Regions from separate parts of the Homo sapiens genome. Here region 2 is linked to region 1. Evidence: promoter capture Hi-C in human tissues and cell types (Jung and others, 2019). All regions are on one chromosome and are shown on one strand. The core of a region is centred on a gene start or on the middle of the fragment in contact, and the rest is flanking DNA. Distances in the headings are between cores, read along the strand shown. Region 1 holds the start of PNOC (prepronociceptin). Region 2 overlaps PBK (PDZ binding kinase).

Region 1 (6,790 bases), core at 1,020-3,519:
TAATTCCTTTGCCCTCATTTTATGTGTTTGACCTGGCTGCTGCCTCCCTCTTCAAAGCCCTTCACCCATCCAAATTCCACCTGCCTTCTCACTTGGTAGGATCCCAGGAATGCCTGGAGGAAATGCTCCTTCTCCCGAATTCTTCTAGCACTTGCTCTCTGGATTATGTGATTTAGGACTGAATTACACCCTGCCTTGCATGGTCCTCTAATTGTTTCTCATGTTTGTGTTACGTCTCTCCTCTACCCCCGACCCCACTATGAGTTCATAAGCACCCCTGACCGTAACGGGGAGATGAACTGGAGCCACAATGCCTTGGCTCAGTCCTGACCCTGCCATGTACTGAATAAATCATTTAATCTCTCAGTTTCAGTTTCTCCAACTGCAACACCGAGATAATGGCACCACCTCACAGGGCTGTTGCTGGGATAATAGGTGTGAAAGCGCCTAAATCGTTGTACAAATGTAAAGTGCTGTTATTATCACCTCTGCTGAATCTACTAGAGCCCCTGCAAGCCTCCCTGCCTGGTGGAGTGTAGACGGTAACTACCTGATTGATTGAATACAGGATAGCTTAGTGACAGCTCTTGTCATAGGCTCCAGGGAGCACAGGTTTGAGCCTAATCCTGCAATCACTCCCTTCACTGACAATGCAAACTCGCCTGCATTTTACAAATCCGTAAGTACTCTCAGCCTTCAGCTGATAAAGCAGGGGCTGCTGCCCTGTGCGCAACAAAACTGCGCCCTCAAAATGACCCGAGGCTGTACCACAGCGCCCTCGCCAGGCAGCACCAGGCGGCACATGCTTTTACAGAGGTGGTGATGGTTGGGGATGGGTTTTCCAGGGACCCTCCTCTGCAGAAGACTCAGCAAGCCCAAAGGAGCACGAATCCTTTTTGTTAAAGGTAACATAGCCTCAGTGTAAGCTTGTAGAATATTTCCCTGCCACACTTTACAAATGAGAAAAAAAGAGGCTGCATGCAGTAGCCACCCACAAGCAGCGAAAAAGAGCAGTATTTGCTTTGGGAGGTTTTGATAAGAAGCCAGGCAGTTACTTTTCCCATCTATGTTGAAAACTCTGGTTTGGGCTTGCTGGCGAATGCCGTGCAAAGCTCATCTTTTGTTAGTCTGCCGAACAATGTTATTGGTTATAATTGGGGCAATTATGGGCTGCTTGAGGAAGCTAAACACAGATGTTTAAGCGCAGGATGGGGGTATTCAAGTCCAAAGCAGCTTGCTTTAAATAGTCCATTTCCCGAATCATCCTGCCTTACTTGAAATTCCCCCAGAACTTGCCCATGTTCAGAGCGAGATTCGGGGAGGAGGGGCTGGGTAGTGAAGCCGGGGAAGCAAGACTCGAGGGAGAGAGATGCACAAAGAGAGGAGGAAGAAAGAAGGTGGCTGAGAGAGCCTCGAGAGTTGGGATGCGGTGACTATGAACGGAGTATTCTGCATGACCTGGGCAAAGACCTTTAGGTGGGGGAGATGGGCAGGGGGAGAGGGATGCCAAGCAAGAGAAGAGCCCTCTAAATGAATCGGGTTCTGGGAGACCAAGGTCACGCCCGTAGAAATGCTCTCTGGAATTCACACGCCGTGGCGCTCAGCAGTGTGTGTATACAGGTGAAGCACACTCCCCAGATCTGGCGCTTCCCCATTATTTGTAGCAATTTCTGCTGGGGGCAGAAGGGAGAAGGGCTCCCTCCGGATTAAAAACTCCCATCTGGATGGCATCAAGTTCAGTGATAGGCGGAGAAGCAGCCTGCGCACCGCATCTGAGAGGAAAGGAAGCCACTGAGAGGAAACCCTCATGAGGGGGCCAGGGTCTTCCTGGGGGCCGCCCCGTGGAAGGCAAACCCCCTCCCAAGTGCCTGCCCCTCCTCTGGCCTCACTCCTCCAGCAGCCTCCTCTCGACACAGAGCAACAACCACGTAGGGGCCACAGCTGGGGAAGCAAAACTTTTCCTCATTTCCAAGTTCCCCTCTTTCTGCTTCTGCGTCTGTCTGAGGTTAAAAAAGAGACTCAGCCCTCCCCCGTTCCCCACCATCCAAGCGCTACAAAGGAGATGAATGAAGAAACCATCTCGCAAGAGGCCAGCAGCATCCACACTGGACAAAGGAGAGAGGCCGAGGAGCCAGCCCCTGGTGGCCCTGCCCTCCCGGAGCTCCACGCAGTTAGTCCAGTTAGTCGCGGTCGGGCTGGGGGCCCCGTGCAGTTGCCTACCTGAGAGCTGTCAGTCCCCGGCTCCCTCCGATGGATGCGAGGCTCGGTTCCGCTTTCTCAGCCACACCAGCATATATATCCTCTCCCCCACGCACAGCCCTCCCCTTCCCTGCCCACCTCCATGACACATACACACACTGACCCCCTTCAGCAACCAAACAGCAGAACCTGCAAGCCTTCCTGGCTGTTCCCTTCCCCCGGCTCTGCCATCAGACCTGTGACATCCCCACCTCCCCATCAATCCATTCTCAAGCCTGCTTCACCTGGACTCTGTTCAGCCAGGATCCCACAGCTGCCTTCCCTGTGCTTCCAGAGGCTCTGTGAGGACTGATGGGGAGCTCTGGCAAGTCAGAAAAAAAGCCTCCTGGTGACAGTGACGAGGCAGACCCCAAATCCTGGAGTCTCCTTGAGCAACCTTTTTGCCTGAGGAGTGAAGAATAGGAGGCAGGCAGAAGGGAGGGGAGCTCATGCCAAGCTCCTACCGACTCGGAGGAGCCCAGGGCTGAGCTAAGCCAAGCCCTGACCTAATGTCATTGCCCCTAACTAGGCCACTCAAGAGGTGGCTGCACCTGCCCTGGGCCAGGTCAGGAGGCATTTCCACAGGTGCCCACAGCATGGTGCAATGGAGAATGCTGAGACTCGAGGCTCAGATGGAAGTGTCTGAAATTCGGCTGTACAGTCAGAGCAAGGCACATCTCTTTGTGAACCTCAAGTCCTCCTTCCGGAAAATGAGTCTAATACTGCCCAGGATGGTTGTGAGTAGAAAAAGGAGATTCTGTTTGAATCTACAACACACGAGGCCCTTAATGAATGTGCTGCATCCTCCCTCTCCTCTCAGCCCGCTTTTCACACTGATTAGTACCACCTGGATGTAGAAATCCCATATCAGTGTCTGGTGTCACAACAGAGAGCTTTTAAAGCTTCTGCAACTTAGGGCATCACTACCGAGGGCCCTGGAGGCTCAGAAGCTCTGGAAGCTTCCCTGTCCCTTACTGCAGAGCCTCTTTGTCTTCTACAGCCGCCGGGGGTTGTGGGCTGCAGGAAAGGAGCTCACAGGCTGAAGGCACAGGCTTGAGGGTTTAGCATCCTTGTGGACCCCACGTTTCCTTACCTTAGGTGAATTTCACCATGACCCTGTCCTTGGTTTTCCTAAGAGGGTCTAAAATATTCCAGAATCCCAGGGTTTGAACCTATGTCATCCAAGGAGCTCAAGCACTCATTCATGTGGTTAAGTCCAGCTCTCTGGTCTACCCAGGACTGGGTGGAGAAGGATTGAGGGAAGCATCTGCCCTGACTGCAAATGGTATAGGGTTTCTTTTTGGGGTAATGGAAATGTTCTGGATTTAGACTGAGGTGATGGTTGCACAACATAGCAAGAATACTAAAACCCACCAAATTGTATGCTTTAAAATGGTGCATTTTATGTTATGGGAATTACATCTCCATAAAAAGAAAATAGGAAAAAGACAGCAAACATCTGCTCAGGTTAAGAGCAACAGGTTCTGAGAATAAAATTTCCCTTCCGTCTGTGTTCACAGCAAAAGGGCTCAGGAGACCAGCATACTCATGATTCTTCACTTAGATCTCTGTTGCCCAAACCTTACACTGCAGGTCGCAGCTACCATTTTGGACTCTTTGGGAAACCAGCATGTTCACTGACTGACACGGGGTCACTTTTGCATCCTGATGTACTTCAGTGTCTCAGGCCTGGAACCTGATTTCATACATGATGTGGCAGATATTGCAGGCTGCCTACCCAATCCCCATTTCCCTGTTCTTCCTTACTAAACGGTACCCTTGATTTTATTCCAGGCATCAATGCACTTAGCTAAAAGACTACATTTCCCATTGACCAAGGGTTGCCAATGAGCATTAAGCTGCAGGTCCTTGGGTGGGGTTTCCAGGAAAGCTTTTTTTTTTTTTTTTTTAGACGGAGTCTTGCTCTGTCGCCCAGGCTGGAGTGCAGTGGCGCCAACTCAGCTCACTGCAAGCTCTGCCTCCCAGGTTCATGCCATTCTCCTGCCTCAGCCTCCTGAGTAGCTGGGACTACAGGCACCTGCCACCATGCCTGGCTAATTTTTTTTTTGTATTTTTTTTTAGTAGAGACGGGGTTTCACCATGTTAGCCAGGATGGTCTTGATCTCCTGACCTTGTGATCTGCCCACTTCGGCCTCCCAAAGTGCTGGGATTACAGGTGTGAGCTACTGAGCCTGGCTGGGAAAGCTCTTTTAAAGGGGGTCAACTCACTGAAGGCCTCTCTCTCTTCTTTGTCCTCCCTCCATCCTGCCTGGGACACAAATGTGATGGCTGGAGCTCTAGCAGCTATCTTGGATTATGAGATAAGACAACTTTGAGGATGGAAGCCATGAGTAAATATGATGGAACATAAAGATGGAAGGATTTTGGGTCCCCCATGACTAATGGAATGGCCATATCAGTCTTGGACTCCAAACTTCAACCTTTTTTTAAAAACAAAAAAAAAACAAAAAAAACCCCAAACATTTATTTCAAATGTCAGTCAGGGTTCAGTTACCCATTGCTGCATAACAAGCCACACCAAGGCCAGAGGCTTGAAACAACAGACCACGTATTTGACTCATGATTCTACAGATTGGGAATTTTGGCTAGTCTCAGCAGGGCAGTTCTTCTGGTCTCAGCCTGACTCTCTTCTGCACCTGCAGTTGGACTCAGAAAGTTGGCTGGGTGTCAGCTGGGGACCTTGGTTCTCTTGCACATGTCTTATCCTTCATGGGTCTCTCACATCCCTCCAGCATATTAACCTGGCATAGTCTCATGGCAAGCCTGAAGTGAAAGCACAAGCAAATACAATCAAGCAAGGGAACAACCGCAAGCACACAGAACCTCTTGAGACCTAAGCATGGAGCTGGCAGTCCATTGCTTTTGCTACATTTGTTGGCTAAGGCCAGTTGCAAGACTGTCCAGAGCCAGGCTGGGTGGAGACTACAAAGTCCCAGGATAATAGAGGGTGGCTATGCAGAAGCCATTCATTGGAGGCATTTGAAACTTTTACTTCCTATGATTTAAGCCATTTAGTTGGATTTTCTATTACATCCAGTGGAAAATTACCTTAAACCAACACACCTGCCTTTGAGCACCTCGTCATTCCCAGGATGTTCAGGCAGCTAAATGCTTTTCTTCCCTTGCAGTTGAGGAAGAGAAAGAGCAAGAGTGAAAAGTCACTTAGCTTCTCTGGACTTTTCTTTCCTCATTTACCAGACAGAAGAGTTGAACCCAACACCTGGATATTCTTGGTGGGTTGAATGAAGCTGCATGTGGTGGCAGGCTGTCTCCAGTGATGGATGGGGAAGGGCAGGATGAACCCAGGAGGGAGTTTAAAACCACTGTTGGGTGGGGGAGTAGAAGAATCTTGCCCCTCAGAAAAGCACAAGTAGACTAGAAATGGTGCAGACTGTGTGGCGTTTGTGATGGCTTCAGGGCTTCCCCCTTGCCACACAGCCACTGAGACTTGGCACTTTGAGAGCCATGGGCTTCCCTTGGGTATGGTAACTGGTCACAGAGCAGCAAGCTGCCCCCTGCTTTTCTGATTGGCAGGATACATTTATTAAAATAGTTGGAAAAGAAAGGTCACATGTTCTTATTTCTACTGCTTTGTGTGTGTGTGCACGCGCGTGTGTGTGTATGCGTGTGTGTGTGTGTGCACAAGAACTTGGAATTAATAAAATTCTTGGCTGGGCGTGGTGGTTCATGCCTGTAATCCCAGCACTTTAGGAGGCCAAGGTGGGAGGTTTGCTTGAGCCCAGGAGTTCAAGACCAGTCTGGGCAACACGGCAAGACCCTGTCTCTATAAAATATAAAAAACTAGCCAGGTGTGGTGGTAAGCACCTGTAGTCTCAGCTACTTGGGAGGCTGAGGAGGGAGGATTACTTGAGCCTGGGAAGTTGAGGCTGCAGTGAGGCATGATTGAGCCACTGCACTCCAGCCTGGGTAACAGAGTAAGACCTTGTCTCATAAAAATAAAATAAAATAAAATAAAATAATGATTTCTTCTGCTTATGAGGTGGCGGAAGTTCACTCCTGCCCACACCAGCTTGGCATCTTCTTTGCAATAGAGGCCCAACCAGGGAGGCTGCAAACATTAGAATCCAATCTGTACTGATAGGTAAGTTTTGAGGCAGATTGAGAAAGCTCTTAAAATTGTCATCAGAATATCTCAGTAGAGGAAGTACAAGGGAAGGAGGCAGCTGCAGCTGGGCCCCATGTGCAGCTCAACGCACCTCCACCCACCTGCCAATTTTCCCCTCTCAGAGTAAAGAGCCTCTCCTGGCCAGGTATTTGGCTGCTTGGAATTTACTGATTAATTACGGCGCCTACCTCCAATTGGTCTCCTTAGTAACCACGTTAGCAGGGTCCCACTGGAAAAGCTGCTTCTTACTCAATGAGGGCAAACTCTTCACATTTTAAAACACTTTTAAGTCAGAACACAATGGATTTTAAAAATAGAGGGACACACACATTTCTTCACAACTTTGCATCAAAATATGGATGGACTTTTGAACTATTGAGGGCAAGTTACACTTTAGTAATCAGC
Region 2 (6,764 bases), core at 1,394-3,893, 490 kb after region 1:
AGATGTAAGATTTTTTTTTTTACTATTGTTGTTTCTCTTAGAAATGTCCTAGTATTATTTAGTTTGATCCTTTATTATCGGTCACTTAGAAACTTTAATGTAACTCCCCTTTATGATGTTAATCTTAACAAATAAGACTTATTTTATAGGCCACGGTTTGATCATCTCTGGACTAATTTTATTGACAATCTAACAGGTTTGGAGGCTCTCCCTGCCCAAGAATCAACTTAGCTTGACCCATTAAGGAACTGCTTTACCTTTCTCCCTCTCATCCATACATTGCTCTTGTGAGGGAAAGATATTTTCCAAGGCAACTCAATGGACAAAGGAAAATCTTTTCAACAAACACCTAGATATCCACGTGCAAAAAATAAGCCTTGACCCTTAACTCCTATTATATAAAAAATAGCTACAATTAAATTTCTAGAAAATAACATGAGAAAATATTCTGTTGTCCATTTCTAGTGACAGATTTTTCATATTGACCTTGTATCCTGCAACCGTCCTAAACTCACTTATTCTATTAGCTTTTTAATAGATTGCTTGGGATGTTGTATATGGTTGGTCATTTGTGGATGAAGAAAGACAGTTTTACTTTGTTCCCCAGTCTGTATGGCTTTGTTTCTTTTACTTTTTTTAATTGCACTGGCTCCAGTATGTTTTTGAATAGAAATGTTAGTGGATATACTTGCCTTGTTCCCAATGTATTATGTTAGATGTAGGTTTTTCACAAATACCCTTTATTAGTTTGAGGAATTTTTCTTCTATTTCTAGTTATTATCGTGAGTGGGTATTGAACTTTGTAGAGAGCTTTTTCTGAATCTATTAAATTTTCTTTTAAAATCTCTCAATGTGGTAAATTATGTTAATTTTCAAGTGTTAAACTGAACTTCCTTGTGTAAAGCCAGTTTGGTCATGATATATTTTATATATTGCTTGATTTGCTGATATTGTCTATATTCATGAGGGATATTGGACTGCAGTTGTCTTTTTGGGATATCTGTCTAGTTTTAATATTAGGTTATTCTGTATTCATAAAGATGAGAAATGTTTCTCTTTTTTTAATAGAAATATCTTTTTCTTTAACTTTGTGTAGAATTGGTATTATTCCTCCTTAAATTGGTGGAATTCACTAGTAAAGCTATCTGGGCCTGGAGTTTTCTTAGTAGGAAGAGTTTAACTGTGATTTCACAGTTAATAGATATAGGGCTATTCAAGTGATCTCTTATTTTCTTTGTGAATTTTGTTAGTGTTTTTTAAGGAATTTGTCCATCACTTCTAAATTTTCAAATGTACTGGTGTGAAGTTATTCTTGATACACCCTTATTAACCTTCTAGTGTCCTTTTTCATATCTGGTACTAGTATTGTATATTTTCTTAATTTTTTTCCTTAATCAGTCTGACTTGAGGTTTATGTATGTTGGTGAATGTTGCATGCACTTGAAAAGGGCATTTTTTTCTACTCTTACTGGGTACGGTGTTCTACAAATGTCAATGTTCTACAAATGTCAATGATATTCTGTATACTTTTTATATTAATTATGAGAGAAGAGAGTTGAAGTTTCCAACTACAATGTGGATTTGTCTGCTTCCCCCCACCCCCAATTTCTATCAGTTGTTGCTTCATGTATTTTGAAGCTTTGTTATTAGGTACATACACATTTAGGATGGTTATTTCTTTTCTTTTTCTTGTTTTTTTGAGTTTCCTTTTGTCACCCGTAATGGAGTACAACAGTGTGATCTCGGCTCACTGCAACCTCTACCTCCTGGGCTCAAGTGATTCTGGTGCCTTGGCCTCTGGAGTAGCTGGGATTACAGGCGTGCACCACCATGGCCGGCTAATTTTTGTATTTTCAGTAGAGACAGGTTTTCGCCATGTTGGGCAGGCTGGTCTCAAACTCCTGGCCTCAAGTGATCCACTCTCCTTGGCCTCCCTTTCAAGTGCATGCAACATTCACCAAGACACATAAACCACAAGTCAGATCCCAAAGTGTTGGGATTACCATGCCTGGCCTAGGATGGTTATTTCTTTTGATGAATTTATACCTTAACTGTTACGAAATACCCTTCTTAATCCTCAGTGGTACTCTTTGTTCTGGAGTCCACTTTATGTGATAGTAATGGAGCCACTCCAGATTTATTTTGATTTGTGTTTTAATGATGTTTTTCAACCCTTTACTCTTGCCCTATTTGCGTCTTTATATTTAAATTGAGTTTATTATAAATGGCATGTCTCGTCTTGTTTTTATCCGTTCTGACAACTTTAATTTCCTTTAACTGGACTGTTTTGCCATTAGCTACATGTGGCTATTTAAATTTGGTTATTTAAATTTGGATTATTAAATGTGGTTATTTAAATTTGGATACAAATTAATTAGAATTAAATAAAATTACAAATTGAGTTCCTCAGTTGTATTAGTCACATTTTAAGTGCTCAGCGCTCAGACAGCACAGATATAGACATTTCCACATGGCAGCATGATGTATTGGACAGCTCTGTTTAGACCATTTATACTCAATGTAATTGTCTATTGTTGGATGTAAATCGGCTGTTTTGCTATTGTCCCATAGCTCATTGATGATTTTTTTCTAACCTTTTTCTCTCTTTGCTTCATTTTTGATAGTTTTTGTTGCTCTGTCTTAAGATTTAGTTATTCTTCTGCTCTAAGATGATGTTATTCTTATCCATTGTATTTTTCATTCCTAAGCTTCTATTTTGTCTTTTTTTTTCCGTTATGCTCAGATTTTCCTTTGTATCATTGAGCACATTTTTAAGATTTGTCTTAAGGTTCTTATCTGCTAATTTTGCCATTCCTGTCATTTTTTTTTTTTTTTTTTTTCTTGAGACAGAATCTTGCTCTGTCACCCAGGCCGGAGTGCAATGGTGCGATCTCAGCTCACTGCAACCTCCACCTCCTGGGTTCAAGCAATTATCCTGCCTCAGCCTCCCGAGTAGTCGGGATTACAGGCACGTGCTACCACGCCCAGCTAATTTTTGTATTTTTAGTAGAGACAGGGTTTCGCCATGTTGGCCAGGCTGGTCTTGAACTCCTGGCCTCAAGTGATCCACCTGCCTCAGCCTCCCAAAGTGCTGGGATTACAGGCGTGAGCCACCACTCTTGGCCTCCTGTCATCTTATGGTATGTTTCTATTGATTGATTGATTTTTTAATTTTTTGAGATGGAGTCTTGTGCCCTGTCGCCCAGGCTGGAGTGCAATGGCGCTATCTCAGCTCACTGTAACCTCCGCCTCCTGGGTTCACGCCATTCTCCTGCCTCAGCCTCCCGAGTAGCTGGGATTACAGGCACGTGCCACCACACCTGGCTAATTTTTTGCCTCTTTAGTAGAGACGGGGTTTCACCATGTTGGCCAGGCTGGTCTCGAACTCCTGACCTAGTGATCTGCCTGCCTCGGCCTCCCAAAGTGCTGGGATTACAGGCGTGAGCCACCGCGCTAGGCCTCTATTGATTTATTTTTCTCCTATATTGGTCATATTTTCTTGCTGCTTTCATGCCTGGTACTTTTTGATTGGGCAGTAGATATTTTGCATTGTCTAGTACTGGATTTTGTTATTCCTTTAAAGAGTGTTTGATTTAGTTATGGTCTGAGGTTAAGTTACCTGCACATTAGCCTGTTCCTTTTGAGACTGGCTTTTAAGCTTTGTTTTGAATGTTTATCTGGGGCTAAACTTTAGCTGTACTATCTAGTTGTGACCCTTTAGAGGACTTTACTATGTGTTACAGGGTTACCATCCTCTAGCTCATGGTGATATGAAGTGTTCCTAGACTTGTATGATCTCTGGTAATTGTTGAGCCAATTGCTTTCCTCTGGTGCTTTCCCAGCTTTGGGGCATCTACACATTGTTATGTGCGGATAAGTACTTGGCCAAACACTCAAAGAGAAACTGTTCAGATCTTTGGAGTGCTCTCTTTGGAGCTCTCTAGTTCTCTGCTCCACAAATTCTAGCCGCCTAGTCCTTCTTGACCTCTGATCTCTGTCTCTTCAATGTGACAGGACTTCTGGATTATGTGACCTCTGTCCTGCAGTCTGGAAACTGCCTTCAAGCAGTAAGTTAGGGCAGTGATAGGGCCCACCTCATTTGTTTCTCTTCTCTCAGGCATCACAACACTGCTCTGCCTGTTGTCAAGTGTCTGAAAACAATTATATTTTGTCTAGTTTTCTAGTTAATGGCGAGATGGTAACTCTAGGAGCAGTTAATTGTCCAGGAGTAGTTAATTATTTTTCATGAGCAGAAGCAGAACTCCATCTTTTCATCTTTTTTTTTTTTTTTTTTTTTTTTTGAGACTGTGTCTTGCTCTGTCACCCAGGCTGAACACAGCTCACTGCACCTGCACCCTTAACCTCCTGGGCTCAAGTGTTTCTCCCAAGTAGCTGAGACCACAGGTGTGTGCCATCATTCCTGGCTAATTAAAAAAATTTTTTCGTGTGTAGAGATGGAGTCTCTTTATGTTGCCCAAGCTGGTCTCTACTGGGCTCAAGTGACCCTCCTGCCCCGGACTCCAAAAGCGTTGAGATTATAGGCATGAGCCACCACATCCAACCCCTTTATCTTTTAACAATGTTTTAAAAATGTGAAAACAGTTCTTAGCTTGTAGGCCATACAAAAACAGGCCATTTCCCAATCTCTGCTTCAGAGTTACTGTAGGATAAAACTCCAAAAGTAGGCTTGGTCAAAAGATACCCATTTAAAATTAGGATATATGTTGTCAAATTGCTCTCCAAAAAGACTGTGCCAATTAATACTCTTGGCAGTAGTATATTGAGAATGTTAAGATGCTTTATTTTTATTTTTTATTAATTTTATTTTTTATTTCTCTGACATTTAGTATTATGTTCAACTCCAACTATAAATATCCCGGCCTCTCCGTTTATGCAGAAGCTTGGCTTTGGTACTGGGGTAAATGTGTACCTAATGAAAAGGTAAGTATAAGATTTCAGATTAACCTTTTTTCATGCAACTATAATTCTACTGTACTTGGAGACAAAGAAGTAGTCTGAAAATTCCAGTATTTAGATTCGGTTGTCTGCTCCTGATCCTGGCTGATGGCTGTATTCCGGTCCCTAGACCCTTTTGTAACTTTGCCTGTAGCTCTGCCTCTGCTTTTCTCCTAGCTTCCTCCTGATGGGTTATTAAAGGGGAAGTCATTTACTTTTTAATTTTTCCTTGGCTTCCATAAGAAGGGGAAGTGGCAGGGGAAAGGGTTCCTTTGTGGTAATTAAACCAGATTCTTCATGAGAAAACCTCAAAGAGGAAGCCAGTATTGGGTGATGTCAGTGACTGCTGTCTTTTCTGCAGCGTTGCCCTCCTAAGATATGCTCTTCTAAAAGAAGTAAAAGATTTTCATTTCTTATGGCATTGTTATTAAGAAGGGTAAATACATGATTTTAAAGTAGGAATATTGTGTTAAGAAAAATGAAATAATCGAACAAGTATGGTGCCAATATAGCTGTCAACAAAGTGTTTTTTTAAATTACTTTTTTATTATTCATATATTTTTTTGAAACAGAGTCTCACTCTGTTGACCAGGCTGGAGTGCAGTGGCACGACCTCCCAGGTTCAAGCGCTTCTCCTGCCTCAGCCTCCTGAATAGCTGGGATTACAGGCGTGTACCATCACACCCAGCTAATTTTTGTATTTTTAGTAGAGACAGGGTTTTGCCATGTTGGCCAGGCTGGTCTCGAACTCTGGCCTCAAGCGATCTGCCCGCCTTCGCCTCCCAAAATGCTGGGATTACAGGTGTAAGCCACCATGCCCAGCCCAAAATTACTTCTTTTAATCATTACTCTGTACCTAGTTTCATGTTTATTAAGTGGCAAACAACTACATCAATATATATTCCTTAATGCATTCTTGGAATCAGTCTAACTAGTCCAACCCTCCGTATCTTAGCTTCATCTAGGTTTACATTGTTTCCAGATAGAAATGCTTTCTTTAATAAGAGGCTAATTAAGAATAATTTAGTAATTATATACAATGGGTATTCCTGAAGCATTTTTGCAGTTTAAACATTTTTTTTGTATGTTTGTATGGTATTGTTTTCTAATTTGTTTTTTAGTGTTAACTCCTATTTTGAAAGAAAAAAATTCTCACAGGTTTATGGCTAGTTTCATTTTTTTCCCCCTTTTTAAAAAAAGTTTTTAAATGTAAAGTGTTTTTAACAAAGTTACACTGTATGTGGTTTAGTCAAAAAGCTTCAAATAGCTGATCTTTTTTTTTTTTTTTTTTTTTGAGACGGAGTCTCGCTCTGTCGCCCAGGCTGGAGTGCAGTGGCGCGATCTCGGCTCACTGCAAGCTCCGCCTCCCTGGTTCACGCCATTCTCCTGCCTCAGCCTCCCGAGTAGCTGGGACTACAGGCGCCCGCCACCACGCCCGGCTAATTTTTTGTATTTTTAGTAGAGACGGGGTTTCACCGTGTTAGCCAGGATGGTCTCGATCTCCTGACCTCGTGATCCGCCCGCCTCGGCCTCCCAAAGTGCTGGGCAAATAGCTGATCTTGAAGAACAGCAGTGCCTGCCTGACCCTACACTCCTCCTGATTCAGCCCTGTCAACCTGGGATTTCTTTTATCCATAACCTGCAAATTTCCTATGCTTCTCTGCTGAATTATATCCTGTGTTTTTAGGTATCTTGTGTCTTATTATTTCTTGATTTACATCCCGTTTTCATTTAGGACATCTGGTAGCTCCCCATGAATCGGTGCACAGAAGATATATTTTTTTGAGAATTTGCATTTCCAAAAATGT

The links. The method cuts DNA at HindIII sites, captures the fragments that hold promoters and counts their contacts. A contact is called where the count stands out against the background at its distance.
Region 2: a fragment that was not itself captured here is called in contact with the fragment with the promoter of PNOC in region 1 in 1 of the 25 tissues and cell types used here (dorsolateral prefrontal cortex).

What each region holds. Positions count from the first base shown.
Region 1 is chr8:28,312,747-28,319,536 of GRCh38, reverse strand. PNOC (prepronociceptin) reads right to left here and starts at 2,269. Exons shown (of 4, transcript NM_006228.5): 1 at 2,221-2,269. RefSeq lists enhancers at 252-763, 764-1,276. The HindIII fragment of the contact is 3,220 bases long and covers 444-3,663 here.
Region 2 is chr8:27,826,282-27,833,045 of GRCh38, reverse strand. PBK (PDZ binding kinase) reads left to right here. Exons shown (of 8, transcript NM_018492.4): 3 at 4,848-4,941. Among named protein-coding and RNA genes, the nearest start is that of PBK, 8.2 kb to the left of the region's middle. RefSeq lists a silencer at 4,908-5,108. The HindIII fragment of the contact is 5,828 bases long and covers 1-5,557 here.